7 separate regions of the Homo sapiens genome follow, and all the other regions are linked to region 1. Evidence: promoter capture Hi-C in 16 types of primary human blood cells and fetal thymus (Javierre and others, 2016). All regions are on one chromosome and are shown on one strand. Each heading gives the region's core, a stretch centred on a gene start or on the middle of the fragment in contact. The rest is flanking DNA. Distances are from core to core; before and after follow the strand shown.

Region 1 (3,590 bases), core at 682-3,181:
AAAAGACCTCACCAAACACGCTTTATGTTATCAAACACCAACAAGCAAAGATGTTTCCTCATCCCTCTGATTATAGCTGCCACTTACTGCCTAAGCCAAATGCTTTACATTTATTATCTCTAATCTTCCTTTTCCACATGAATGAACAACCAGGTTCAGAGAAGTAACTTGCCCATACGTAGTAAGTGGTGGAACCAGGATTTGACTTAGGCCTGGCTGGCTTCAAAATCCACACTTTGTCCACAAAAGTTAGTTATGCTGTCAATTTAGCTGGGCTCTGAAAAAAACTGGAGTTTCAACTTTCACATATATGGTATGTATACAATAACGTCTACCCGCCACTTCAATATATCCTTAAGAACTGAACGTTTTACTGTAGAAAAGGAGTAGTTTTTAAAGCCTTTTACTGTAAAAGAAATCAGTACTTTACTAAAGACGTCCTCAGAAAGAAAACGATTCTAATAATTAATTTGAAATGGCTTTTTAAACCCAAATCATCATTTGAGAATACGGTAGCTACCAGTTTTCTCATACGTGAAACATACTTAGGTAACTTTCAAAATGTTTCAGGTGTCAGTTACTAGTATAACCCTGGGGAGTAAACGGTAGCTATATTACAACTGTTGCAAAGTAGAGTTTCTTTTTTAAGCCAAGAGTTCTCTAACACCCAAGGTTTAGTGCCCTAAAATGTCACCCCAGTCCTTTTAATTTTATATCCATGCCTTCCAAGCCCTACCTAACATCTGGTTCCCAGTTTTCCCCGTTGAGTATTTTCTCCAGGCCTGATTCCTCAACAGTTTTCCCTAAAACCTGTAGCTCATGCTGGCACTATTTTTGCCGAAGTAGATTAAGAATACAAGTAATAGATCATACTCTGGGGGAGGCAGTAAGTTAACAATTTCGTCTCCGTCTGCGTTAACCAGACGCAGATACTAGCCAGGGTGGCCACTATTCTCCTAACAAATTCTACAACGGCCAAGCAATTTTTCGGTAAGTTGGAAAACGGAAACCACAGCGTGGAAACTCTGCACGGAGTCTTAAAGATAAGAAGTTAAGACTTTAATTTACTCTTGCAGAGGGAACGGTGAAGGCTTTCAGCACGGCAAGACGATACTTTCGAAACTGTCACTAGACTACTCAAACTGGAGTCTCCCGCCCAAAAAAGCGTGGCACACGGCTAAAAAGGGCCTCCCTCCAAGGCTCCAGTCCTCGGGGAAGACGGCGCTGTGACCGTCTGATCCATGAGACCGGGCAAGAGGTGAAAGGGAGCAGGAAATCCTGTTTATTTCCAGTAGTCCTCAGAGCGGGAAAGGTTGGTGTCTACCCAGAAACGAATAGGGCCCCAGTTCCGGGCCTAGGAAGGGAAAACCCAGGTCTCCCGGGCGCCCTGGAGCTGTGCCCCCCTGCCCGGAGCACCAGCCCCACTCGGGCTTTCCTTCTCCCCGTCCCACTCAGGGCCTCAGCACAGCTCCCATTATGCCTCCACCACCCCCACCCGCGCAGGCGCAGTGGGAACCGGGGCCTACCCGCGCCCCCGAGGCGCCGCCACTATGGCGGAGCCTGGCCAGGCCGGTAGCCGCTCCGCGCGGACCAGGCGTCCCTCTCCCGTCCCCGCGGCCTCCCCACCACCTATGGGGTCTGTCCCCGCCCGGCCGGACCCTCTTTCGCCCTCCTCACCCGTTCTTCAGATCCACCTCCAGGATCTTCCCGTAGCCCTTAAAGAAGCGCTCCACATCGCGCTCCCGGGCCTGGTAGCTCAGGCGGCCGATGTACACCCGCGGCATCCCGGCAACGGCAGTGATGGCTGGCCCCGGCCCCAGCCCCCCTTAGGCGGCGGCGGGCAAAGCGAGAGCACGGCGGCAGCGGCGGCGGCGGCAACGGGCGGGCGGCGGGACGGACGCAGCCGAACCCCGGCGACGTACGCGAGCACGCAGCTCGCGAGCGCGCGCTTCCACTTCCCCCGCCCTTCCCCGAGGCGGAAGGTAACCGGAGAGAGCGCGCGTTCGCTTCCCGCTCGGCCAGGACTGGGGGAGGAGCTTGCCCGGGGGCGCGCCGACGTGCGGCGGGGCAAGGTGATCGACAGGCGGCGCTGCGGCACGTCCTCGCGCGAGCTCGCCAAAGGGGTTCCTGCACCGCCTTCCGCAGCCAGCTGGCTTCGCCCCTCCCCCGGAAGTGTCCGCACCTCCTAGAGCCCAGCGAGCGAGCGTTTGTGCTTTTGTCCTTTGAACCGGGTGTGGTTTGGATTTCGGAGCTGGAGCTTTGGAATCAAACCTAGCTTCCAAACGATTGTGTACCCGTGACCTTGGGCTTGTTACGCGCGATGTCTCGGACCCTCCTTTATCTTTTCTGTAAAAGGGGGAGAGTAGTTCCTACCTTCCAGAGTTGTCTTGAGAATTATATGAGAATACGTACATAAAGCACTTAGTAGTTTTGTCATATCAAGTGCCCAATAAATGAGACCAGTATTATTTTTAAGAGGACACTGCTTAAATAGAAGCAGTGTGAGAAGCGGAGAAGGCTGGAGCTTTGGAGCTAGACTAGGCATGACGCCGAGTAAATTACTTGACCACAATCCAACCTATTTTTTTTTTTTTGAGACGAGTTTCGCTCGGTCGCCCAGGCTGGAGTGCAGTGGCGCGACCTCAGCTCACTGCAACCTCCGCCTCCCGGGTTCAAGCGATTCTCCTGCCTCAGCCTCCAGAGTAGCTGGGACTACAGGCGCCCGCCCCCACGCCCGGCTAATTTTTGTATTTTTAGGAGAGAGGAAGTTTCACCATATTGGCCAGGCAGGTCTCAAACTCCAGACCTCAGGTGATCCGCCCGCCTTGGCCTCCCAAAGTGCTGGGATTACAGGCGTGAGCCACTGCGCCTGGCCTATCCAGTCTATTTTCTAACCTGTAAAATTAGAATAATGTATACCCATCTCAAGGATTACACAGGTCACTAAATGGGGTAGTGTATGTGAAAGTACTTGGAACAGTGTCTGAAACATGGTAAGAGCTCAATAAATATTGGTTCCCTTCTCACTAACGCCATGTACCTAGAACCATAAAGGGTTTTGTTTCTTTGCTTGTTTTTGTTTTTTGAATATTTTGAAAGGATAACTCAAGGTTCAAATGATACACAGTGAAAAGTCTTCGCTGTCCACCAGCCACTTAGTTTCTCTTCCCAGAGGCAGTTTCTGAAATGTCCTTTAGGAGGTTAATTTACCCTTATAAAACAAATAGTAGGATACTATACATATGGTTCTACACAAAATATATTTTGAAAATCATTCCTTAAGAGTATAAAAGGACTAGTTTTATGGTTCATACCATTTTATACACAGTAATTTATTTAGCCAGTGCCCTGGTGAAGGACATTGAAATAAGTTCCAACCTTTTGTTATTACACTGCTGCAGTAACTTTGCATTTCTCTCTCTCTCTTTCTCTCTCTCTCTATATATATCATCTATTCCTAGAAATAGGATATTTGGGTCAGAGTTTTGATAAGTTATTGCTCAATTCCCCTTAAGTGGCTGTTTCCTCATATCCTCATCAACACCGTGTTATCAAACTTTTTGATCTTTGCCAATCTGAGAGGTGAAAAA
Region 2 (3,590 bases), core at 365-2,864, 930 kb before region 1:
CATAGATAGATATTAAATAAGTGTATTATATAAAGAATCTTAAAACTTCTCCCTTCTCCGTCCACCCCAGAGCTAACCAATGGTAACAGGTGCAAACTACACATCTTTCCAGATCTTTGTTTCCTCTGTGTAACTATGTATACAACTATGAGACTGTTCTATATGTATCATTGCGCAACCTCGGTTTTTGCTTCGTTCTGTTTTAACCTAACAGGAAATCCTGCATACCTTTCCATTTCAGAGCACTTGGAGCTACCTTCTGTTTCTTTGCTGTAGAAGCCGTTGTGTGAACAAATCCGTTTATTTCTCTCATCAGTCTCCTTTGATAGACATTTGGGTCACGTCCGGTTTTACGCTTTTACAATACATCAGTGAACAGCAGTAATACGAGCTCAAGACAGAAGGCCTGAAAAACATTGAAAAACACAGAGACGGAAAAAAAAAAACCACAGAGGGGGAAATATAATTTCGGGTTATTTCAGTTTCACCTTTACACTTTGTTATATTCCACATTTTTTGCAATAAATATAAATTTGGAAGTAAAAGCATAAAACGAAAATCAAACGATTGATTGATTGATTGATTGACTGAGACGGAGTATCACTCTCGTCGTCCAGGCTGGAGTGTAGTGGCGCGTTCTCGGCTCACTGCAACCTCCGTCTCCCGGATTCAAGCGATTCTCCTGCCTCAGCCTCCCGAGTAGCTGGGATTACAGGCGCCCGCCACCACGCCCGGCAAATTTCCAAACGTATATTTAAAAGAAGAAAAGGAAAAGAGGGGAAAAAAAGAAAGAAAGAAAGAAAGAAAGAAATTAGAAGCAGATGGGGCAGTTCAGCCTCTTCTCGCGGAGCGGGGCTAGACGGAGTCAGGGGCGGACCGCCACAGCCTGCACCAATCAGGACCCGGTTGATAGGCAGAGCCTGGCGACTTCGAAGACTCGCCCCCAGTCAAAGAGCCCCGGGGATTCGTTTCCGTACGCAGCCTGGAAACCAGCCTGGGCCTATCCTGCGCGCCGCTGCGGGCTACTATTGGCTGCCAAGAAACCCCGCCCATCTTCCTGCTCATTGGCCGGTGCGGTTTACGTAAGAGGAGCCTGTTGCTGAGCGAAAAGTCTGTTCTGCAATTTTCGCTAAGGAGTTGTTAACGCTGAAACCGCACTGGGCGTCCTGGGGTCAAAAAAACAATACTAGCCACAGTTTATTAAACTGCAACTAAATGCCAGGCTATGTGCGCCAAACTTTTAATATTAATGGTTGTAGGCACCTTTCTTGAACACCCACCACTATCAGCCAGTCACTGAGCCAGATCCTTCAAAATAACAGTAAAAATATAGATAATCTACAGTTTATTGAGCACTTCATCTGCATCAAGCCTTGTTAAGGGGTTTCCATGCATAAGCTCTCATTCTCACAATAGAACGGTGGAGGTAAACTATTGCCCCATTTAACATTTAACATGCAGTCCTGTAGACCCAGCTACTCGGAAGGCTGAGGTGAGAGGACCCAGGAGCTCCAAACTTAAGTGAGCTATGATCGCGCCACTGCACTCCAGCCTGGGCAACAGAACGAGACCTGTCTCAGAAAAACAAAAACGTAATAAAAGAAAAACAAAAACAAAAAAACAGGAAACGGGTTCAGAGAAGTGAAGTGTTTTGCTGAGGTTCACAAAGAAAGGGTTGGAACTGGAACCTTCAACTCCGATATCCTGATTCCAAGTGTGGCCTTTTTAGGGAGGGGGTCGGGGTACAGAATTCCGCTGGGGATAGGGAAAGGTAGGACAGGATGGTGGGAGGCCAGAGGCGTTGCTCCAGGGACAAGCCTCAGGGTGGTTCTCTGAGAATAGGATGTATAGAGCCTCTAGGAGTGGAGGGTTGGGGAAGGAAGGGAGACCAGAGGAAAGGGAGAAGTTGTTCTTTCTGAAAATGTGAGGCTTCTCTCCTGGGGCAGCCTATTAAGGTGTAGGTAGCCCTGGACCTCGAGATTCTAGTCTCCACTCTGTGGCCAACTTCCTAGGGAACCTTGGGCAAATTCCTCTCTCTCGACCTGAGGCTTCCTGCCTTGTAAGAGAGGTAGTAAGCCAAAACAATGGAAAGTGCATTCGGGCTGTGAAGTATTTTAGGACTCTGGTCCTTGCTGGCAGCAGGGGGAATCTTCAGCAACCACAGACCTTTACTTAGCTGTTGCCTGGCCTCTTTTCAAGACCTTCAGGCGGTGACATGGACCCTAACAATCCTATAAACTCAAAACGGTTTGGGCCAGCCCTTTCCTACTCCATTCTGACTTAGCTATAGCAGGATCTGGCCTGCAGGGGGCGTTGAGGAACCACTCAGCCGACAAAACTAAACTAAATCAACCAAGCAATTTGCCCAAAAGCACCCAGTGCGTTAGTTTTTGCATTTAAGAAGGGTAAACGTTTCCAAACCTGAAGATTTCTGTCCTCAGTATGCAATCGAGAAGACGAATTATATACACTGCCAGTTCTTTATGGCACCAGTTCTCTCCATAATGACTCTGCAAGTTTAGAGCTAATTTCTATTTCTTTGTTTTACAGATAGGGAAACAGATTCAAAGAGCTGGAAAAAAAAAATTCAGTTTGGGTTACTTGGCTAAAAGCTGGCACCCGAATTGCCTGACTCCTGGGAAGTGCTCTTAGGAGATAGTTGGCTTTGTTTCTGGGAGTCTGTGGTTGTACTGCCTGCTAATGCACAACTCCAAAGGACAATTTTGGTTGTGTAGCTTGACAGCTCGGCACCTGTCAGCTCTGTGCAGGAAGGACCTCCCTCCCCACCTAGCACAATGCCTGCTTCATGAGTAATTGAATTAATGTGTGACTAAGCCTTGAAGGATGGGTCTTCTTTGGCTTTATCAAACCAATTGGAGTGGAACTTCTTTCCTGAAAGTTCCCCCTGGGCAGGAATTGTATCTGAGATTAGTGGGTGGGGAGGGGGGAAACAATAAGAAGAGCTCAGAAAATGACATCTGGGGTGATAAATCACAGCCCCCCGAATGGTCCCATTACAAGGTCATTATAGTAAAGTGATCTCAGAATTTGAGACTAGAAAACTAATTCAGGAAGAATGAATACAGAACAGATGACAATCATATTAGGGTCATAATCTGAAATGGATCTAAGGCTGAAGACATCTCAAAAACATTTCAAATCCAGTCTAGGTAGGTGTATCTTTGGGACTGGAAGGTGATTGAGGAATATAAATAGCTGGCCAATCAGTGGCCTCAACATAGCTGATGCAAGAGTTGAGAGTGTGGCAACAGAAGAAGGAGATCTTTACCCAACCAAAAATACAAGGCAGTGGGGAGGGGAGGAATGTGCCCAGCCAGTGGCACCCTGCCATGCCCTGCTAGGCTGCTAGCTTCACCACTGGATTTCCCAGAGCCAGGCACAGTGCCTGGTACACACAAGATGGTAAATAAATATTTATTGAATGAAAAAAGGAAGGAAGGAACTGGAGCCCTGACCAGCAGATAGTTGCTGAGTAGAGCAGTTCAATAATTCGTCCTTTCACTTGCTCAGATTCCAGCTGCCTTAGCCACCTTCAGATGATAAATTTGCCTTTCAGTAAAGGCTCTCCT
Region 3 (3,590 bases), core at 376-2,875, 780 kb before region 1:
TCACTCTAGAAGAATAGATACCTTATTACTTTCTTAATTTTCTCTAGTGATGTGCTTTTTTTTTTTTTGAGACGGTGTTTTGTTCTTGTCTCCCAGGCTGGAGTGCAATGGCGCAATCTCGGCTCACTGCAACCTCTGCCTCCTGGGTTCAAGCGATTCTCCTGCCTCAGCCTCCTGAGTAGCTGAGATTACAGGCTTACACCACCACGCCCGGCTAATTTCTTTCTTTCTTTCTTTCTTTTTTTTTTTTTTTTTTTGTATTTTTAGTAGAGACGGGGTTTCACCGTGTTGGCCAGGCTGGTCTCAAATTCCTGACATCGGGTGATCTACCCGCCTCGGCCTCCTAAAGTGCTGGGATTGCAGGTGTGAGCCACCGTGCCTGGCCGTGATATGCTTTTAAATCAAGTCCAAGAAAATGTGGAAATAACACTTTAGTTGTTCAGTCTGCCAATGTAAATTTAGGTTTCATTATCTTGATGGTGTTTTTAGACATTGTGTATTTTGATCAGGCTTTGAATCATGATAGAATTAAAAACTGCTTTTTTTGTTTTAGAACTGAAATGGAGGAGTGAGGTGAGCTTTAAGACTGCCAACTATATGCCAGGCACAGCCCATTTCTTCCTGTTTTATTTTATAATAAATGCTATTTCATGAGATTCTCATTAAAGATGAGTATTATTAATCCCACTTGAATCCCCAAAGACAAGAAGGTTAAATTATTCTGCAATATTATCTTTTGTAACCAAAATCATTAACCAGTTTGTATATGATTGATATTTGAAACTAACTTGTGCTAATTTGTCCAATGAAAGATAATGCAAGTTCTCTTAACCAGTAAACTTTTGTTCTTTTGATTTTTGCCTGGCTTGTTAAGCTTTCTCAGGAGGGAGAAGGTTATTTTGAATAACACGGGTCTAGCGTTACAGCAATTACCCAGAAAGGAATAGAAAAGGCAGAAAATAATTTCATTCTTGACGGTTTCCATCTGAGTAGATTAATTTATATTTGTATGTACAATCTGAGGCTATCTTGGACATTCAAAATGAAACAAGGAATGAAGCTATTATTAGGGTAATTGAGAAAAAAATAATTTTTGCTTTTTTTTTTTTTTTTGAGTCTTTCTCTGTCGCCAGGCTGGCGTGCAGTGGCGCAGTCTCGGCTCACTGCAACCTCCACCTCCTGGGTTCAAGCGATTCCTCTGCCTCAGCCTCCCGAGTAGCTGGGACTACAGGTGCGTGCCACCATGCCCTGCTAATTTTTTGTTGTTGTTGTTGTTTTTGTATTTTTAGTAGAAACGGGTTTTCACCATTTGGGCCAGGATGGTCTTGATCTCCTGACCTCATGATCCGCCCGCCTCGGCCTCCCAAAGTGCTGGGATTACAGGCATGAGCCACCGCCGCTGGCCTAATTTTTGCTTTTAATATCAAGTTTCTAGCCTGCAGTACATGCTTCTGTGTTTCTTTCACTGAACTGACCTAGCCACAGTTACCAAGTTGAGGAATTGATACATTCGAAGAGTTCTGTTAAAGGTGGGAAGAGGATAATATATTTTAGAATTCTCATATACCTATGTTAACACCACCAAGGCTGTGGCTGCCATTAGCAACAGCAGCATTAAATATCTGTTGGGTGGCTGGCCGGGGTGGCTCACGCCTGTAATCCTGGAACTTTGGGAGGCCAAGGTGGGCAGATCATGAGGTCAGGAGTTTGAGACCAGCCTGGCCAGCATGGTGAAACCCCGTCTCTACTAAAAATACAAAAAATTAGCCAGGCATAGTGGCATGTGTCTGTAGTCCCAGCTACTCAGGAGGCTGAGGCAGGAGAATCACTTGAACCCCACAGGCGGAGGGTTGCAGTGAGCCGAGATCATGCCACCGCACTCCAGCCTGGGCAACAGAGTAGACAGACCCTGTCTCAAAAAATAAAATAGGCCGAGCACGGTGGCTCATGCCTGTAATCCCAGCACTTTGGGAGGCTAAGGCAGGCGGATCGCTTGAGGTCAAGAGTTCGAGACCAGCCTGGTGAACATGGTGAAACCCTGTCTCTACCAAAAACACAAAAATTAGCCGGGCGTGGGGGCACATGCCTATAATCCCAGCTACTTGGGAGGCTGAGGCAGGAGAATTGCTTGAACCTGGGAGCTGGAGGTTGCAGTGAGCCAAGATCGCGCTACTGCACTCCAGCCTGGGTGACAGAGCAAGACTCTGTCTCAAAAAAGAAAAAAAAATTTAATTAATTAAATACTGATATTCAAAAAGAAGCACTTTTGAGGCAATAGTTTTATCAGATCTCAAATATGTATGTTTTGTATCCATCCTACTGGTTCTGTTTCTGAGAAGAACCCTAATACAGAAGGTATTCCGGAAGACACGTTAGCCAAGCTTGAGATTTAAAGGAATTAGCTGTGTAAAGAGGTAGGAAAGGCTGGGTGCGGTGGCTCACATCTGTAATCTCTGCACTTTGGGAGGCCGAGGCGGGTGGATCACCAGAGGTCAGGAGTTCAAGACCAGCCTGGCCAACATGGTGGAACCCCATCTCTACTAAAAATACAAAAATTAGCTGGGTGTGGTGGCACATGCCGGTAATCTCAGCTACTGGGGAGGCTGAGGCAGGAGAATCGCTTGAATCCAGGAGGCGGGGGTTATAGTAAGCCAAGGTCATGCCACTGCACTCCAGCCTGGGCGACAGAGCAAGACTCTGTCTCAAAAAATATATATATGATGAATAATTTTGTGTTGATGAAATTTCTGCTGTGTATAAATATTTTTTGAGTTTAGTATGTCTCTACTGTTAAGTGATATGGCATGATTTATTTCTTTTACCACTTTTCGGTATTCACATTGCCAGGAAACTTGTTCCTTTGAAGTTATTTGGTTTTCTCATGGCTCACATACGTCATGGATACTTACCTAATTCCATTTCTATTAATTTCTTGTTGGTCTCGGACTATGTAGTACTGTTTGGTGCTAGTGTTCATTTATTTATTCAGTAAGTATTTTCTTAGTACCTAGTGTATGCACCTTCTAAATGCAGGGATATAGTAGTGAACAGAACAGATAAAGTATCTAATGATACTTTCTAGATTGGGAGAGACACAATAAGAACTTAGGTAAGCATATCTATAGATAAATTACAGATAGTATACCATCAGATAGTGATACATTAAAATAAAAATAAAACAGGGTAAATGGATAGAATGTTTTGAAAAGGGGGTGCCAAGGAAAGGCCTCTCTGAGGGAGTCACACTTGAGTGACCTGAAATAATGGAGCAAATCACGCAGTTTCTGGGAAAAGAGCATTCCAGGCTGACTGAATAACAACTGCAAACCCTAGGGTAAGAATGTGCTTGTTATGTTACAGAAACAATAGTAAGCTCAGTATGGGTAAAACAGAGTGAGCAAGAGAAGTAGGAAATGTGGTCAGTGGAGCAGACAGGGACCAGGACATGTAGGATCTTATAGGCCGTGGTAAGAAATTTGCAGTTGTCAAGCACAATGGCTCATGCCTGTAATCCCAGCACTTTGGGAGGCCAAGGTGGGCAGATCACTTGAGGTCAGGAGTTCAAGACCAGCCTGGCCAACATGGTGAAA
Region 4 (3,590 bases), core at 284-2,783, 690 kb before region 1:
TTGATATGCAAATTGTCATTTGTGAGTAATATTCCTTCCTTCTGATTGTCAACTGTAGCTAAAAATGAAGCTGATCGTCAGGCAGAAAAACGAGAAATTAAACGTCGGCTCACTAGAAAGGTACTACTGCCTGTGTGTTCAGTTAACTATATGTGTTATATTTGGATGGCCTATTTGATTGGAAATGAATTCACAGCTGGGCACAGTGGCTTGCGCCTGTAATCCCAGCACTTTGGAAGGCCATGGCAGGAGGATTGCTTGAGCCCAGGAGTTCAAGACCAGCCTGGGGAAAACAGTGAAACCTTGTGTCTACATTAAAAAAAAAAAAAAGAAGAAGAAAGAAAAGAAAAAGAAAAAAATGAATTTGCAGCCTGGGCAACATGGCAAGACCCCACCTCTACAAAAAAAAATATATATTAGCCAGGCATGGTGGTATGCGCCTGTAATATCAGCTACTTGGGAGGCTGAGGTAGGAGGATCATTTGAGCTTGGGAGGTTGAGGCTGCAGTGAGCTGTGATTGTGCCACTGCACTCCAGCCTGGGTGACAGGGCAAGACCCTGTCTCAAAAAAAAAAACAAAACAAAAAACCACCTGATAACCATAATCACTGGGGGTGGGACCTCCAGGGATCAATAGTGTCTAAAGCTCCCCCAGGTGATTCCAATGAAGATTGAAGCACTGGGTTAGAGGCAATTTGAATGCATGATTGATGCCTAATTATTGGCTTGGTGAACTAAGAGGCTCCGTTTCCTTCAGCTCAGTCAAAGGCCAACTGTCGCTGAACTCCTTGCCAGGAAGATTCTGAGGTTTAATGAATATGTAGAGGTAACAGATGCTCAAGATTATGACCGGCGAGCCGACAAACCTTGGACCAAACTGACCCCTGCTGACAAGGTACCTGGAAAGCACTCTCTTGCTTTTTTTCTCTTTCTCTTTTTCTCTTTATTTGGAGGATCCAAGATACTAACTAGAAGGGAGAACCATAAACAAAACTTCTAGTTTTAATATAATATTAAATTTCAAATCAAGATACAAAATGCCAAGTTGAACAAGTCAAAATGTTATACTAACTCAGTATGTTTTGGTAACTCCACCACCAATACTGAAAGAAAGAAAATCCCTGCTATCTCACAGAGTAAAAATACTGGAAGGAATAAATACATTTCAAACAGTGGTTGTTTGGTTAGAGGGAGTTTGGGCTATATATTTTAGTAATTACCAATATTTCATTTTTATAATGCTGTGAAAAACTATAAAAGCTGGCCAGGCGTGGTGGCTTATGCCTGTAATCCTAGCACTTTGGGAGGCCAATGCAGAGGGATCACTCGAGGTAAGGAGTTCGAGACCAGCCTGGCCAACATGGTGAAACCCCATCTCTACTAAAAATACAAAAATTAGCTGGGTGTGATGGCATGCACCTGTAATACCAGCTACTTGGAAGGCTGAAGCAGGAGAATTGCTTGAACCTAGGAGGTGGAGGTTGCAGTGAGCCAAGATCATGCCAATGCACTCCAGCCTGGGCAGCAGAGTGAGACTCCACCTCAAAAATAAAAATAAAAAATTAAAATTAAAAAAAAAACAAAACTAGCCAGGTGCAGTGGCTCACACCTGTAATCCCAGCACTTTGGGAGGCCGAAGCAGGTAGATCTCTTGAGGTCAGGAGTTCAAGACCAGCCTGGCCAACATGGTGAAACCCTGTCTGTACTAAAAATACAAAATAGCCGGACGTGGTAGTGCGCACCTGTAATCCCAGCTATTCGGGAGGCTGAGGCAGGAGAATCGCCTGAACCCAGGAGCTGAAGGTTGCAGTGAGCTGAGATTGCACCACTGCACTCCAGCCCCAGCAACGGAGCGAGATTCCATCTCAGGGAAAAACAAAAATAAAAACAAAACTATAAAAGCTACAATATATCTTTCAAGATTTTCAAGTATTTTGATTAAACTAAAAATTTTAGGTTTATTATGAGACAGATGGGTATCATTGTGTTGACCTGGTGTCTGGGTTGCCTGTGAGGGGTTGCAGTGACTTACAAAGTTAAACACAGTACAGAAAAATGACAAGTTACACTGCTGTGCAAAGCAGCCAGAAGAAGCTGAAACATTTTTGTCTCTACTCCACAGGCTGCCATAAGAAAAGAATTAAATGAATTTAAAAGCTCCGAGATGGAGGTTCATGAAGAGAGCAAACATTTTACACGGTAAGACCCAAAAGACCCAATCATATATGTGCTAGGTAGAGTTTTCCAAAAAATTGTTCAGATATGAAGGGCTCTAATGACATCAGTAAAAAGGAAAACACTCAGTGTTGATTGCAAGACTGCATTCAAAGGGATGAAAAGTAAGAAGCAATAGTAAATGCCTAGGCCAGGTGCGGTGGCTCACGCCTGTAATCCCAGTACTTTGGGAGGCTGAGGCAGGTGGATCACCTGAGGTCAGGAGTTTGAGACCAGCCGGACCAACATGGCAAAACCCCATCTCTACTAAAAATACAAAAATTAGCTGGGCCTGGTAGCAGGCGCCTGTAATCCCAACTATTAGGGAGGATGATGCGGGAGAATCACTTGAACCCGGGAGATGGAGGTTGTAGTGAGCTGAGATCATGCCATTGCACTCCAGCCTGGGTGACAAGAGCAAAACTCCATCTCAAAAAAAAAAAAAAAATAAGTAAATGTGTATTCTGATTATGGCATTTCATGTATATTATTTAATCCTTGTAATAAACATGCAAGATGTGTTAACATCCCCATTTTATCACTGAGGAAATGGAGGCTCACAATGGTTAAGTAACTTGGTTGACTTGCTAGTAAATTGCAGAACCAGGATTCGGAGAAAGAAATCAATGACTTCAAGGATGTGAGGTGCTCTCTTCCTTGTACCTTACTCTCTCAGGTTATAAATGAGGAGACTGTGCTAAGTTAGACAAGATCTTGCCCTCTCTGGTTCAGTTCTGTCTAGCACAGTTGATCTTACCAACTTAATGTATAAACAACATTTTAATTAGCTGTCTTCATGAAACAAGCCAAGAAATCCAACAAAGCCAACAAGCCAACAAATCAAGTGTTTTGATTTGGAATTACGGTTGTGATTAAGGACCCACCCATATCCAAAGAATCAGCTAGCCACAAATGGAATCAGTGAAAGTATCTTTACATGATTCTTAGAACATTTACAAAAAGAGGCAAATGAGGCTGAGTGCAGTGGTTCATGCCTGTAATCTCGACACTTTGAGTGGCTGAGGCGGGAGGATCGCTTGAGCACAGGAGTTTGACACCAGCCTGAGCAACATAGTAAGACTCCATCCCTACAAAAAAAAAAAAAATCTATTTTTTGATTTAGGCAGGGGCCTGGTGCAGTGGTACACACCTGTAATCCTAGCACTTTGGGAGGCCGAGGTGGGAGGATCACTTTGAGACCAGCCTGGGAAACACGGTGAGCCCCATCTCTACAAAAAATAAACTTAAAAAAAAAATAAGCAAGGTGCAGCCAGGCGCAGTGGCTCACACCTGTAATCCCAGCACTTTGGGAGGCTGAGGCAGGTGGATCACTTGAGGCCAGTTGGAGACCAGCCTGGTCAACATGGTGAAACCCT
Region 5 (3,590 bases), core at 324-2,823, 600 kb before region 1:
CAAAATCACCTAGCTGGTAAATGTCACAGATTCAACTGGAGGCCATCCTGACACCAGCATGCGGCCTCCCCCTGAATTAAGACACTTCAGGCCCAGGGATTCATCCCCGCATCCCCCAGGAGACCGGTTCCCAAACCCCCACCCCTTCCGTAAACCCGGCCGCCTGCCTGCAACACTCACCTGTCAGCCCAGAGCGCAGCGTTGCGCAGTCCGAAGCGAGAGAAGGGCGCGGCCCCCGCGGGCTCCCGCCCCTCTCACTGCCGAGGGGGCCTTTCGGAGCTCGGGCCCACCGGGTTGGAAGGCCCGGCTCCTCCGTGCCACATTCACCACCATCTCGAGGCCGTGGGAGGAAAAACCCGGCGAGTGCGCGCCAGCAGCAGCGACTAGCGGGGAACGGCGCGCAGGAAGGCAGGCAGAGGCTTGCAGCTAGTAAGTCGACACCGGGAATGCGGCGGGGAGAAAGGGCGCTGAAGCCGCGAGCAAGAGCTTATATAGGCCGCCCCTCGCGGCCACACCCGACAGTAGGCCGCCCGCGTGGCGCACAGCTGCCTGGGAGTTGTAGTTTGCTCGCCCCGGCGTTGTCCGCGCGTCACCTCCCCAGCCCTACGCGCGTGTCCATCCCGAGCCCGCGAAGCGAGAACCGCCAGAGGCTTTCCTCCGAGCGGAAGAAGCGCCTTCACCTTTCAGTGCCCGGCGCTGGGCCCACGCAGGAAGCCGACCCGCCTTGGCCTCTGGAGTTGTCTCTGGGATGTCTTTCAGTCTGGAAATGAACCCTGTGTGCTGGGAAAGGGCTCGGGCTCCGCTCCGAGCTCAGTGGGCGTGCGAGCGAGCAGCGCCTGAGTGGGTTTCGGGGAGGGGGTCATACTCCCCGAAAGGCGATTTATTCAAGGCTTGTCTCTTCCACTAATATGTAATTTTACTGAGCGCGTGCTATTTTAACTGTGTCTGATTATCTGATCTAGTTTTCATAAAAACCCTGTGTACGCTCTGTGGACAAATAAGGAAACTTAGGAATGGATCACACAGCTATCGCAAGCGAGGAGAGGACTGGAATTTGGAGCCCACCCCAGGCACCACACATAGCGCAATGTTTTGCCCATGGAATGAATAAGCCTCAGTATGAAAACTTAGTGGTGATTGCCGAGAATTAAACACCCATCCTGTGCCTAATCTATTAATTTTTATTCTTACATACACTTTTTTGTTTGAGACAGGGTCTTGTTCTGTTGCCCAGGCTGGAGTGCAGTGGCGTGATCAAGGCTCATTGCAGCCTCGACCAACTGGGCTCAAGCAATTCTTCCACCTCAGCCTCCCAGGTAGATGGGACTACAGGTGCGGGCCAACTTTCCTTGCTTACACTTTAAAAAGTAGGTACTACTGCCGGGTGCGGTTACTCACGCCTGTAATCCCAGCACTTTGGGAGGCCAAGGCGGGTGGATCACGAGGTCAGGAGATCGAGACCATCCTGGCTAACACGGCGAAACCCGGTCTCTACTAAAAAAAAATACAAAAAAAAATTAGCCGGGCGTGGTCGCGGGCGCCTGTAGTCCCAGCTACCCGGGAGGCTGAGGCAGGAGAATGGCGTGAACCCGGGAGGCGGAGCTTGCAGAGAGCCGAGATCGCGTCACTGCACTCTAGCCTGGGCAACAGAACGAGACTCTGTCTCAAAAAAATAAAATAAAATAAAAAGTAAGTACTACTTTAGCAGGTCGTGGGGGCGCATGCCTGTGGTCCTGGACTCCTCTCTTTCTCTAACATCACATGTCCAAGCCATCAGCAACTCCTGTGTGCTCTACCTTTAAAATGTATCAATAATCTGACTGTTTCTTACCCCTTCCACTGATGTTACCCTAATCGTTGACCCAGATGATAGCAATAGTCTCTTATCTCCCAGATCCTGCTGTTGCTCCCGACAGTCTGGTCTCCACACGCCAGCCAGCCTGCTAAAAGTTTTTTAATTTTTATGAAGTCTAAGAGTCAATTTTTTTTTTTGTAGTTTATGCTTTTTTTTTTTTTTCTTGAGACGGAGCTGCTCTGTCGCCCAGGCTGGAGTGCAGTGGCGCCATCTCAGCTCACTGCAAGCTCCCGCTCCCGGGTTCACGCCATTCTCCTGCCTCAGCCTCCCAAGTAGCTGGGATTACAGGCGCCCGCCACCACGCCCGGCTAATTTTTTGTATTTTTAGTAGAGACAGGGTTTCCCCATGTTGGGCAGGATGGTCTCGATTTCCTGACCTCGTGATCCACCCGCCTCGGCCTCCCAAAGTGCTGGGATTACAGGCACGAGCCACCGCGCCCGGCCGTTTGTTTACGCTTTAAAAGCTTAATAATTATGCTGGGCGCGGTGGCTCCCACCTGTAATTCCAGCACTTTGGGAGTCCGAGGGGGCAGATAACCTGAGGTCAGGATTTCAAGTCCAGCCTAGCCAACATGGTGAAAACCCGTTTCTACTAAAAATACAAAAATTAGCTGGGCGTGGTGGCAGGCGCCTGTAATCCCAGCTACTTGGGAGGCTGAGGCAGGAGAATCGTTTGAACCTGGGAAGCGGAGGTTGAAGTGAGCTAAGATGGAGCCATTACACTCCAGCCTGGGCGACAAGAGCGAGACTCCGTCTCAAAAAAAAAAGAAAAAAAGTAAAATTATTAAACTTTTTTTTTTTTTTTTGGAGATGAAGTCTCGCTTTTTCGCCCAGGCTTGTGCAGTTTATTCTGTGTCAATTATGCCTCAATAAAGCTGTCAAAAAACCATTAAGAAAAAATGTATATCTCCCAGGCGCAGTAGCTCCCACCAATTCGGGAGGCCAAGGCAGGTGGATTACCTGACATCAGGAACTAGAGACCAGCCTGGCCAACATGACAAAACCCCATCTCTACTAAAAATACAAAAAAAAAAAATTACCCAGGCATGGTGACACTCATCTACAGTCCCAGCTACTTGGGAGGCTAAGGCATAAGAATCGCTCGAACCTGGGAGGCAGAGGTTGCAGTGAGCCAAGATCATGCCACTGCACTCCAGCCTGGGTGATACAGCGAGACTCCCTCTCAAAAAATATATCTATATATATCTATCTATATCTATGTGTGTGTATATATAGATAGATAGATATACATATTATATTAAGGCAGATGCAGTGGATCACCTGTAGTCCAGCTACTTGGGAAGCTGAAACAGGAGGATCACTTCTGTCCAGGAGCTGGAGGTCAGCCTGGGCAACAAAGTGAGACCCTGCCTTTAAAAATAAATAAGGCCAGGCACAGTAACTCATGCCTGTAATCCCAGCACTTTGGGAGGCCAAGGCGGGTGGGTCACGAGATCAGGAGTTCAAGACCAGCCTGGCCAAGATGGTGAAACCCCGTCTCTACTAAAAATATAAAAAATTAACCAGACATGGTGGCGGGCGCCTATAATCCCAGCTACTCGGGAGGCTGAGGCAGAGGTTGCAGTGAACCGAGATCGTGCCACTGCATTCCAGTCTGGGCAACAGATCAATATTCCATCTCAAAAGTAATAATAAAATAAAAGTAAATAAATAAGTAACATGTATTTTTTAAAACTTTTTTTTTTTGAGACGGAGTTTCCCTCTTGTTGCCAGG
Region 6 (3,590 bases), core at 641-3,140, 540 kb before region 1:
GTTTTTACTGGAAATAAAAACTGGGCCGGGCGCAGTGGCTCATTTCTATAATCCCAGCACTTCGGGAGGCTGAGGCGGGCGGATCACTTGAGATCAGGAGTTCGAAACACAGCCTGGCCAACATGGCAAAAACCTGTCTCTACTAAAAATACAAAAAGTAGCCGGGCATTGTGGCACACACCTGTAATTCCAGCTACTTGAGAGGCTGAGGCAGGAGAATCGTTTGAACTGGGGAAGCAGAGATTGCAGTGAGCCGAGATCGTGCCACTGCACTCCAGCCTGGGTGACTCTGTCTCAAAAAAACAAAACAAAACAAAACAAAAACAAAAACTGCAAGGGGGGTGAGGTGACTCATGCCTGTAATCCCAGCACTTTGGGAGGCCAAGGTGGGAGGATCACTTGAGCTTAGGAGTTTGAGACCAGCCTGGGCAATATAGTGAGACCCTGTTTCTACAAAAAATTTAAAAATTAGCAGGGCGTGGTGGCACACGCCCGTAGTTCCAGCTACTCAGGAGGTATAGGTGGGAAGACTGCTTGAGCCTAGGAGGTTGGAGGTGCACGGGGCCAAGACTGAGCCGCTGCACTTCAGACTGGGCGACAGAGAGAGAACCTGTCTCAAAAAAAAAAAAAAAAAAAAAATTCCCTCCTGAGTTTGAAGATAAAGCAAAGATTCTAGAAGCATTTAAGGAACATTAACCAAGCATCTCATTTGCTACGCACAGAAGGGTACTGTATTAAAATTATGATCTAACTAACCATTGCCTCACTGTAATCCTAAGCCTCTTTGAACCTTAGCCTTCTTAAATGTAAAATAGGAGTTTTTAAAAGATGATCTTTTGGGACTCTTCCATCACTGACATTCTTTTATTTGAGATGCAGAGATCTGTGCTCATTCAGGGTTGAGTGGAATGGGATTTAAAGCACTTATCAAGTACATAACTGAGTTCCAACTGTTTTCAACTTCACATCTGATTCCCAAGAATGAAGCAGAAAATGAAGATGTTTGCATATGGGCTTCCTAGATTGAGTATCTGACACAAGAAAAGCTTGCCAAGAGCCAAGTAGGCAGTGCGAAGGAGAAGTTGTCTTCCCCTGAATACGTCCTTTATCTCTCTGGGTTCAGGGAATACTGTGAAAAAATGGATCACTAAATCTTTTCCAAACCCTTTCCCTTTACTTTGTAGGCTGATCTCATATCCATGGTCCCTTAGATCCAAGGCTTTTAGGAGCTTGGGTACTCACAGCCCTGTTCCGAGACTCAGGAACTCGGAGTCTCAAAGCCCGGATCCCGTCCCCAAAGAAGCCCCAGTCTTCACTGCCCGCTTCTGTTCCCTTCCAAACTCAAGTTTTCTCTGTCTGCTTCTGCCCCTCAGGAACCTAAGTCTTCGCTGCCCCGTTTCTGAATCCTTAGGAGCCCGGGTCTTCACTGTCCCGCTTCTGCCTCTTAGGAGCCCAAGTCCTCACCGCTCCACTTTTACCTCTCCGGAGCCTGTGTCTTCACGCCCCGTTCCTTTCTGACCCTTTCCTCGTAGGAGTGCGGGTCCTCATAATCCTGCTCCTCTCAGACCACTTTCCCTCAGATGCCGGAGAACTCGCATCCGTCCCCGTTCCCTAAGTCCCGTCTTAGAGCCCGGGTCCCCACAGCCGCGTCTTCTCCGAGCCTGATCCTCTCAGTCAGTCCCTTCCCAAGAGCCTGAATCCTCACAGCCCCGTCTCGTCCACAACCTGGTCCTTCGAACACTGACCCACTGTAGGTCTGGGTCCTGACTCCCTCCTCCCGCTCTTGTTCCTCAACTGCCAGGGCCCAAGACTCACAGGCAGCAGCGTCTATCTCCCCATGATATGCAGAGACTGCCCCAGTGAAGCGTTCGTCTCAGCAGCCGGTCCGACTGCGCGGCCCTCCCCGACTACTTCCGGCACCGCTCCCCGCCTCCAACCCGGAAACGCGCGGCTCTTCCGGCCGGCGGGCGCGCGCCTCGCTTGCGCAGGCGCAGACTGCCCTCCGACACGTGGTGGCGATATTGAGCTGTGTGTAGGTACACCCTGCAGCTTGCGCTTTTAACTGCTTGTGGTTGAGTGGCAGCATGAGCGAGCTCTGCGTATTCCAACCCGGCGTTAAGAATCCTTCACTAGCTTTTCTTCCCGACGCTGCTTATTTATCTATCGGTAGCATGACGGGTAATTGACGCCCTCGGATGGCTTTGAGGTCGCCATTTTTGGTTGGTGCCTTTGTCTTGGTGTCAGGACTGGGATATCATCTGGGACACATTACCCCACAGGTATCCTGTTGGACCTCAACGAGGAAGTTGGCAACAGAGGAACCAGGAGATGAGAGAGATCGGTTGGTTGTGCCTGTGAACTGGCAATTCAGTAGTAACAATTGAGTGCTTACTGTTTGCCGGGAATTGTGCTAATCCGCTTACCTCCGTTACGCCATTTAATCATTTAGAGGAGACCTGTGAGAGATTAAGCAAAGTTCTAGCTAATAAGTGCAGAGCCTCAGCTTGAACTCAGAACTCACTACTAAGCCAAAGCCTGTCCTGTAGCATTCTCTAATGCTTTCAGTTTTTCGGCTGTCAGATGCTTGGTGAGAACTGCTGTTATGTGGCTCACGCCTGTAATCCCAGCACTTTGGGAGGCCGAGGAGGGTGGATCACGAGGTCAAGAGTTCAAGACCAGTCTGGCCAAGATGGTGAAACCCCGTCTCTACTAAAAATACAAAAAATTAGCCGGGCGTGGTGGCATGCGCCTGTAATCGCAGCTACTCCGGAGGCTGACGCAGAGAACTGCTTAAACCTGGAGGGGCGGAGGTTGCAGTGAGCCGAGATCGCGCCACTGCACTCCAGCCTGGGCGACAGAGCGAGACTCTGTCTCAAAAAAAAAAAAAAGAGAACAGCTGTTATTTTTTACTGTATGCTGGAATGTTAGGCATGCAAGTAAGACCCAATTCCAGCATCTGTAAGGTTCACAGTAAGATGGAGAAGAACCCACAAACACACCAAAAATTGTATAAAGAGCTGTGACAGGCCAGAGTGAGCCACATAGAAATTAGGAAGAGGTGCCCAGATTGGTGCGGCATCCTGCCCTGTCTTTATATCTTCCTAATCCTCATCCTACCACGTTCCCAGTCCACCCTCTACACTGCCACCCAATCCAAATTCTCAGATTCAAGTCCTCATGAACATTGGGCTCTAAGCTGTATTCCTAGCCTTATTTCCTTGCCACTGCTCTCCATTCTTTTTAGGGTCCGGCATACCACTTTTTGTTGTTGAATGCCTATACATCTTTTTTAAGACCCAGGTTGAATGTATATACGTTCATTTGACAAGTGTTTGAGTCTCATTGTGTGACAAGCCTTTTGCTATGTGCTGAGTACATAACTGGTGGCTAAGACGGATGATCTCTGTCCTTAGAAAGTTTGCAACCTAGAGTGGGAAACAGACCATTAGCAACTGCACAAAAGGGTGATAGAAGAGAATACTGGAATAAGCCAGACTTATCTAGCTGGCTGATGGCCTGAGCCATGGTCTTCAGTAAGGAAAACACTTACTCAAGGACCAAGATGGCCAAGGTGGCTGGAGCTTTGGTAA
Region 7 (3,590 bases), core at 360-2,859, 510 kb before region 1:
GTGAAACCCTGTCTCTACTAAAAAATACAAAAAAATTAGCCAGGCGTAGTGGCGGACGCCTGTAGTCCTAGCTACTGAGGAGACTGAGGCAGGAGAATGGTGTGAACCCAGGAGGCGGAGCTTGCAGTGAGCCGAGATTGCGCCACTGCACTCCGGCCTGGGCGACAGAGCAAGACTCCGTCTCAAAAAAAAAAAAAAAGAGAAACTTACTTAGTAGGGTTGCTGTGAGGATTATACAAGACAGAAGCATCTTCACCAAGCCATAGGCCATAGAAAGGTCTTTTTGTTTGTTTGTTTTTTGAGATAGAGTCTCACTCTGTTGCCCAGGCTGGAGTGCAATGGCCTGATCTCGGCTCACTGCAACCTCCGCCTCCCGGGTTCAAGTGATTCTCCTGGCTCAGCCTTCTGAGTAGCTGGGACTAGAGGCGCGTGCCACGACGCCCGGCTAATTTCTGTATTTTTAGTAGAGACGGGGTTTCACCATGTTGCCCAGGCTGGTCTCGAACTCCTGGTCTCAAGTGATCTGTCCGCCTCGGCTTCCCAAAGTGTGGGATTACAGGCGTAAGCCACCACACCTGGCCATAGAAAGGTCTTAATACGGCCGGGCGCGGTGGCTCACGCCTGTAATCCCAGCTCTTTGGGAGGCCCAGGCGGGTGGATCATGAGGTCAGATATTGAGACCATCCTGGCCAACATGGTGAAATCCTGTCTTTACTAAAATACAAAAAAAAAAAAAAATTGCCGGGCGTGGTGTCGCGCGCCTCTAGTGCCAGCTCTTCGGGAGGCTGAGGCCGGAGAATCACTTGAACCCAGGAGGCTGAAGCTGCAGTGAGCCGAGATCGCGCCACTGCACTCCAGCCTGGCCAAAGAGCAAGACTCTGTCTAAAAAAATAAATAAATAAATAAAAAATAAAGGTCTTAATACTTGTTAATTACTATTACTGACCCCAGGAACTCTCTGAAGCACTTTTCATGCAGGTATCACCTTCTTTAGCACTCACATTATGTCTTATCGGAAACAGGTTTAGAGCTGTCAAGAAATTCCTCCAGAGTCGTTTACACTTCCAGCAGGGGAGTCAAGACTTCAACCCAGAAACTCACAAGCAGGAAAAACTTGGCAAACAGGCACGGGTCAGACAATGCTTAGGGCTTGCTCAAGGACTCGTGACCAGTTACTGATCTATGCAGATCTTCTGATTGCAAACTGATAGCTGGATTGTAACTTGAAGGGTCCGATAAGATGTAAACTTCATAAAACAGGATTTGGGGAGGTAAATGGAGTAGAGTCCTCCAGAGGAGTCGAGAAAGCTAGCTTGGCCCTCAATTGTGGTTGAGGTGATTCTTTCATTTAGGGCCTATTTTCCTCATCTATGAGTGCGGGAAGGAGAGTTACTGGGGTCTCTAGCGACCTTTCCAACACTGATTTTCAAGGGCGAAAGAATTCTGCTTAGGTAAGGCCCAAATCCCTTGGCTAAGGTTAATCCTCGGTGGGACCGGCAATAGGGACGCGTCCCCTTTAAGGCGCCAGCTCTCCGGCGGCGGCGGCCGGAAGTGTTGAAGCCCGGCCTGGCGGCGGCGGTGGCGGTAGCTGCCGTGGCGGCCTCTGCGCATGCTCCGTCGCCTGCCCGCCCTGGCCGCTCGCCGCCCGCCCGCCCGACGGAGACGGTGAGGAGGGGGAGGGGTGGGCGCGCGGGCGCGGGGTGGGGTGGGGGCGGGGGGGCGGGCGCGGGGGCCGCGCGGCGGCCGGCGAGGGCGGGCGGGCGCGCAGGGGGCGGGGGGCTGCTGCCTCCGCGGGCGCCTCCCCACGCCCTGTGCGTGCCGCCGCCGCCGCCGGGGAGCGAGCGGACGTCGCGGCGCCGCGGGGGGGTGGGGGGACGCTGCCGCTGGGTCCGCCCGAGCCGCCGGGCCGCCCCCAGCGCAGCCGGCCGCGCCGCCGGGGCTCGGGCCCCAGACCAGGGCGGCGGGAACCGGCGAGTCCACCACTGGGGGGGCCCCGGCGCCCCCGGACCGAGGGGCCCGGAAGTACTCGGCTCAGGGGCCAGGAGGGGCCGGAGTGACTCCGGACTGAGAGGGCCAGGCGCCCAGGACCCCATCGAGGGGTCCGGGGAGCCTGGGGTATCCCCAAAGGCGGGGTCCGGGGAGCACCGGGCCCTTGGATGAGGAGCTGGTTGGAGGCCTGGGTCCTGCCCAGTGGGAGGGGGACGATAGGTGCTGGAAGCCCGGATGCCCGCCTGGGAGGAGACCCTCTCGGAGCCTTGGCGGGAGAGCAAGAGTACAGAGTGGGTTCTTCTGAGGAGAGCAGAGTCCAGCTTATCCCGAGGGGCGCGGTAGAGGCCTCGGCCACTCAGAACAAGGGAAAAAAGGGCAGGTTTTTTCCAAAGGCAGGGAAGGAAGAGGAGCTCTAAGGGGAAGTGAGCAGGCCCAGGTCTCCCCACAGATGAGCGCGTGGTAGGAAGACTCCTAGAGCCTCCTGAAGTACGAAAGAGCAGCGTCCAAACCTGAGGGGATGGAAGGTGTCTAGGTGCCTCTTGATGTCTAGGTGGAGAACAAAGTAACCCGCTCGGTCAGGGGATGGAGAAACCTATCTTTTTGAGAGAAGCAGAGATCGTTGAGGAAAGATGCTTAAGGTGTTCCCGCTTTCTGAAATGACAGGAATTGGCCAGGTGTTATCTAATTGAGGGGCAGGAGAGATGAAGGCAAAATCTCAACCCGAGGGTCTTTGGAGGATGATCCACAAGACAAGAGGGTGAAGTCTTGACCTAGACAGCAGAGCAGGCGCAGCCCTGGATTCTCTCAAGATGAGAGAAATCTCAAAACCACTTCCTAGTAGACACAGATGGGGCCTTGATTGGTGTCTGTTTAGGCCAATCAAGACGGGTTTTAGGAAAAGAGACTGTCAGACATAATTCTAGTCTTGAGGGATTATCTTCTTCCTCCTTGCCTCTTCTAATAGTTACCAAAGTGCATTTGGGGACCCTTTTTATTTATTTATTTATTTATTTGTTTTTTGAGACGGAGTCTCACTCTATCGCCCAGGCTGGAGTGGTGGCTCACTGCAACTTCCGCCTCCTGGGTTCAAACGATTCTCCTGCCTCAGCCTCCCGAGTAGCTGGGACTACAGGCGCGTGCCACCACACCAGCCAATTTTGTTGTTGTTGTTGTTGTTGTTTGAGACGGAGTTTCACTCCTGTTGCCCAGACTGGAGTGCAATGGCGCGATCTCAGCTCACTGCAACCTCCGCCTCTTGGGTTCAAGCGATTCTCCTGCCTCACCCTCCCGAGTAGCTGGGGCTACAGGCGCCCGCCACCACACCCAGCTAATTTTTGTATTTTTAATAGAGACGGGGTTTCACCATGTTGGCCAGGCTGGTCTCGAACTCCCAACCTCAGGTGATCCCACATCCTCAGCCTCCCAGAGTACTGGGATTACAGGCGTGAATCACTGCGCCTGGCCCAACCAGGCTAATTTTTTTGTGTTTTTAGTAGAGACGGGGTTTCACCATGTTAGCCAGGATGGTTTCGATCTCCTGACCTTGTGATTCGCCCGCGTTGGCCTCCTAAAGTGCTGGTATTACAGGCGTGAGCCACTGC

What was found. Contacts are between HindIII fragments. The CHiCAGO score rates a contact against its expected background, and 5 or more counts as called.
Region 2: a contact is called between a fragment that was not itself captured here and the fragment with the promoter of SRSF4 in region 1, in 2 of 17 cell types (neutrophils and fetal thymus). The highest score is 5.4, in neutrophils.
Region 3: a contact is called between a fragment that was not itself captured here and the fragment with the promoter of SRSF4 in region 1, in 2 of 17 cell types (activated CD4 T cells and total CD4 T cells). The highest score is 5.3, in activated CD4 T cells.
Region 4: a fragment that was not itself captured here is called in contact with the fragment with the promoter of SRSF4 in region 1 in 1 of 17 cell types (neutrophils); the score reaches 5.4 in neutrophils.
Region 5: the fragment with the promoter of SNHG12 here is called in contact with the fragment with the promoter of SRSF4 in region 1 in 12 of 17 cell types (neutrophils, total CD8 T cells, erythroblasts and 9 more); the score reaches 14.4 in neutrophils.
Region 6: the fragment with the promoter of TAF12 here is called in contact with the fragment with the promoter of SRSF4 in region 1 in 12 of 17 cell types (non-activated CD4 T cells, neutrophils, naive CD4 T cells and 9 more); the score reaches 10.0 in non-activated CD4 T cells.
Region 7: the fragment with the promoter of GMEB1 here is called in contact with the fragment with the promoter of SRSF4 in region 1 in 1 of 17 cell types (neutrophils); the score reaches 5.0 in neutrophils.

Annotation. Positions count from the first base shown.
Region 1 is chr1:29,179,969-29,183,558 of GRCh38, forward strand. It overlaps SRSF4 (serine and arginine rich splicing factor 4), which reads right to left and starts at 1,932. Exons shown (of 6, transcript NM_005626.5): 1 at 1,678-1,932. The coding sequence starts at 1,784. It also overlaps a transcript of MECR not described here. RefSeq lists silencers at 1,531-1,720, 1,771-1,980 and enhancers at 1,985-2,622, 2,051-2,280, 2,623-3,260. The HindIII fragment of the contact is 7,304 bases long and covers 1-3,590 here.
Region 2 is chr1:28,246,348-28,249,937 of GRCh38, forward strand. No RefSeq gene overlaps it. Among named protein-coding and RNA genes, the nearest start is that of SESN2, 11 kb to the right of the region's middle. RefSeq lists enhancers at 645-814, 2,056-2,255. The HindIII fragment of the contact is 6,700 bases long and covers 1-3,590 here.
Region 3 is chr1:28,396,608-28,400,197 of GRCh38, forward strand. All of the region lies in intron 1 of PHACTR4 (phosphatase and actin regulator 4), which reads left to right. Among named protein-coding and RNA genes, the nearest start is that of PHACTR4, 29 kb to the left of the region's middle. RefSeq lists a silencer at 3,547-3,590. The HindIII fragment of the contact is 1,507 bases long and covers 873-2,379 here.
Region 4 is chr1:28,490,893-28,494,482 of GRCh38, forward strand. It overlaps PHACTR4 (phosphatase and actin regulator 4), which reads left to right. Exons shown (of 14, transcript NM_001048183.3): 11 at 59-120; 12 at 758-895; 13 at 2,123-2,199. Among named protein-coding and RNA genes, the nearest start is that of SNHG3, 13 kb to the right of the region's middle. The HindIII fragment of the contact is 5,965 bases long and covers 1-3,590 here.
Region 5 is chr1:28,581,410-28,584,999 of GRCh38, forward strand. SNHG12 (small nucleolar RNA host gene 12) reads right to left here and starts at 1,574. Exons shown (of 6, transcript NR_146382.1): 1 at 681-1,574. RefSeq lists an enhancer at 1-741. The HindIII fragment of the contact is 3,732 bases long and covers 1-2,317 here.
Region 6 is chr1:28,641,177-28,644,766 of GRCh38, forward strand. It overlaps TAF12 (TATA-box binding protein associated factor 12), which reads right to left and starts at 1,891. Exons shown (of 6, transcript NM_005644.4): 1 at 1,816-1,891. TAF12-DT (TAF12 divergent transcript) reads left to right here and starts at 2,080. Exons shown (of 2, transcript NR_146730.1): 1 at 2,080-2,587. RefSeq lists a silencer at 3,441-3,590. The HindIII fragment of the contact is 14,626 bases long and covers 1,045-3,590 here.
Region 7 is chr1:28,667,175-28,670,764 of GRCh38, forward strand. It overlaps GMEB1 (glucocorticoid modulatory element binding protein 1), which reads left to right and starts at 1,610. Exons shown (of 10, transcript NM_001319674.2): 1 at 1,610-1,665. RefSeq lists silencers at 1,582-1,721, 1,752-1,861, 1,872-2,161 and enhancers at 2,692-2,741, 2,792-2,851. The HindIII fragment of the contact is 26,935 bases long and covers 1-3,590 here.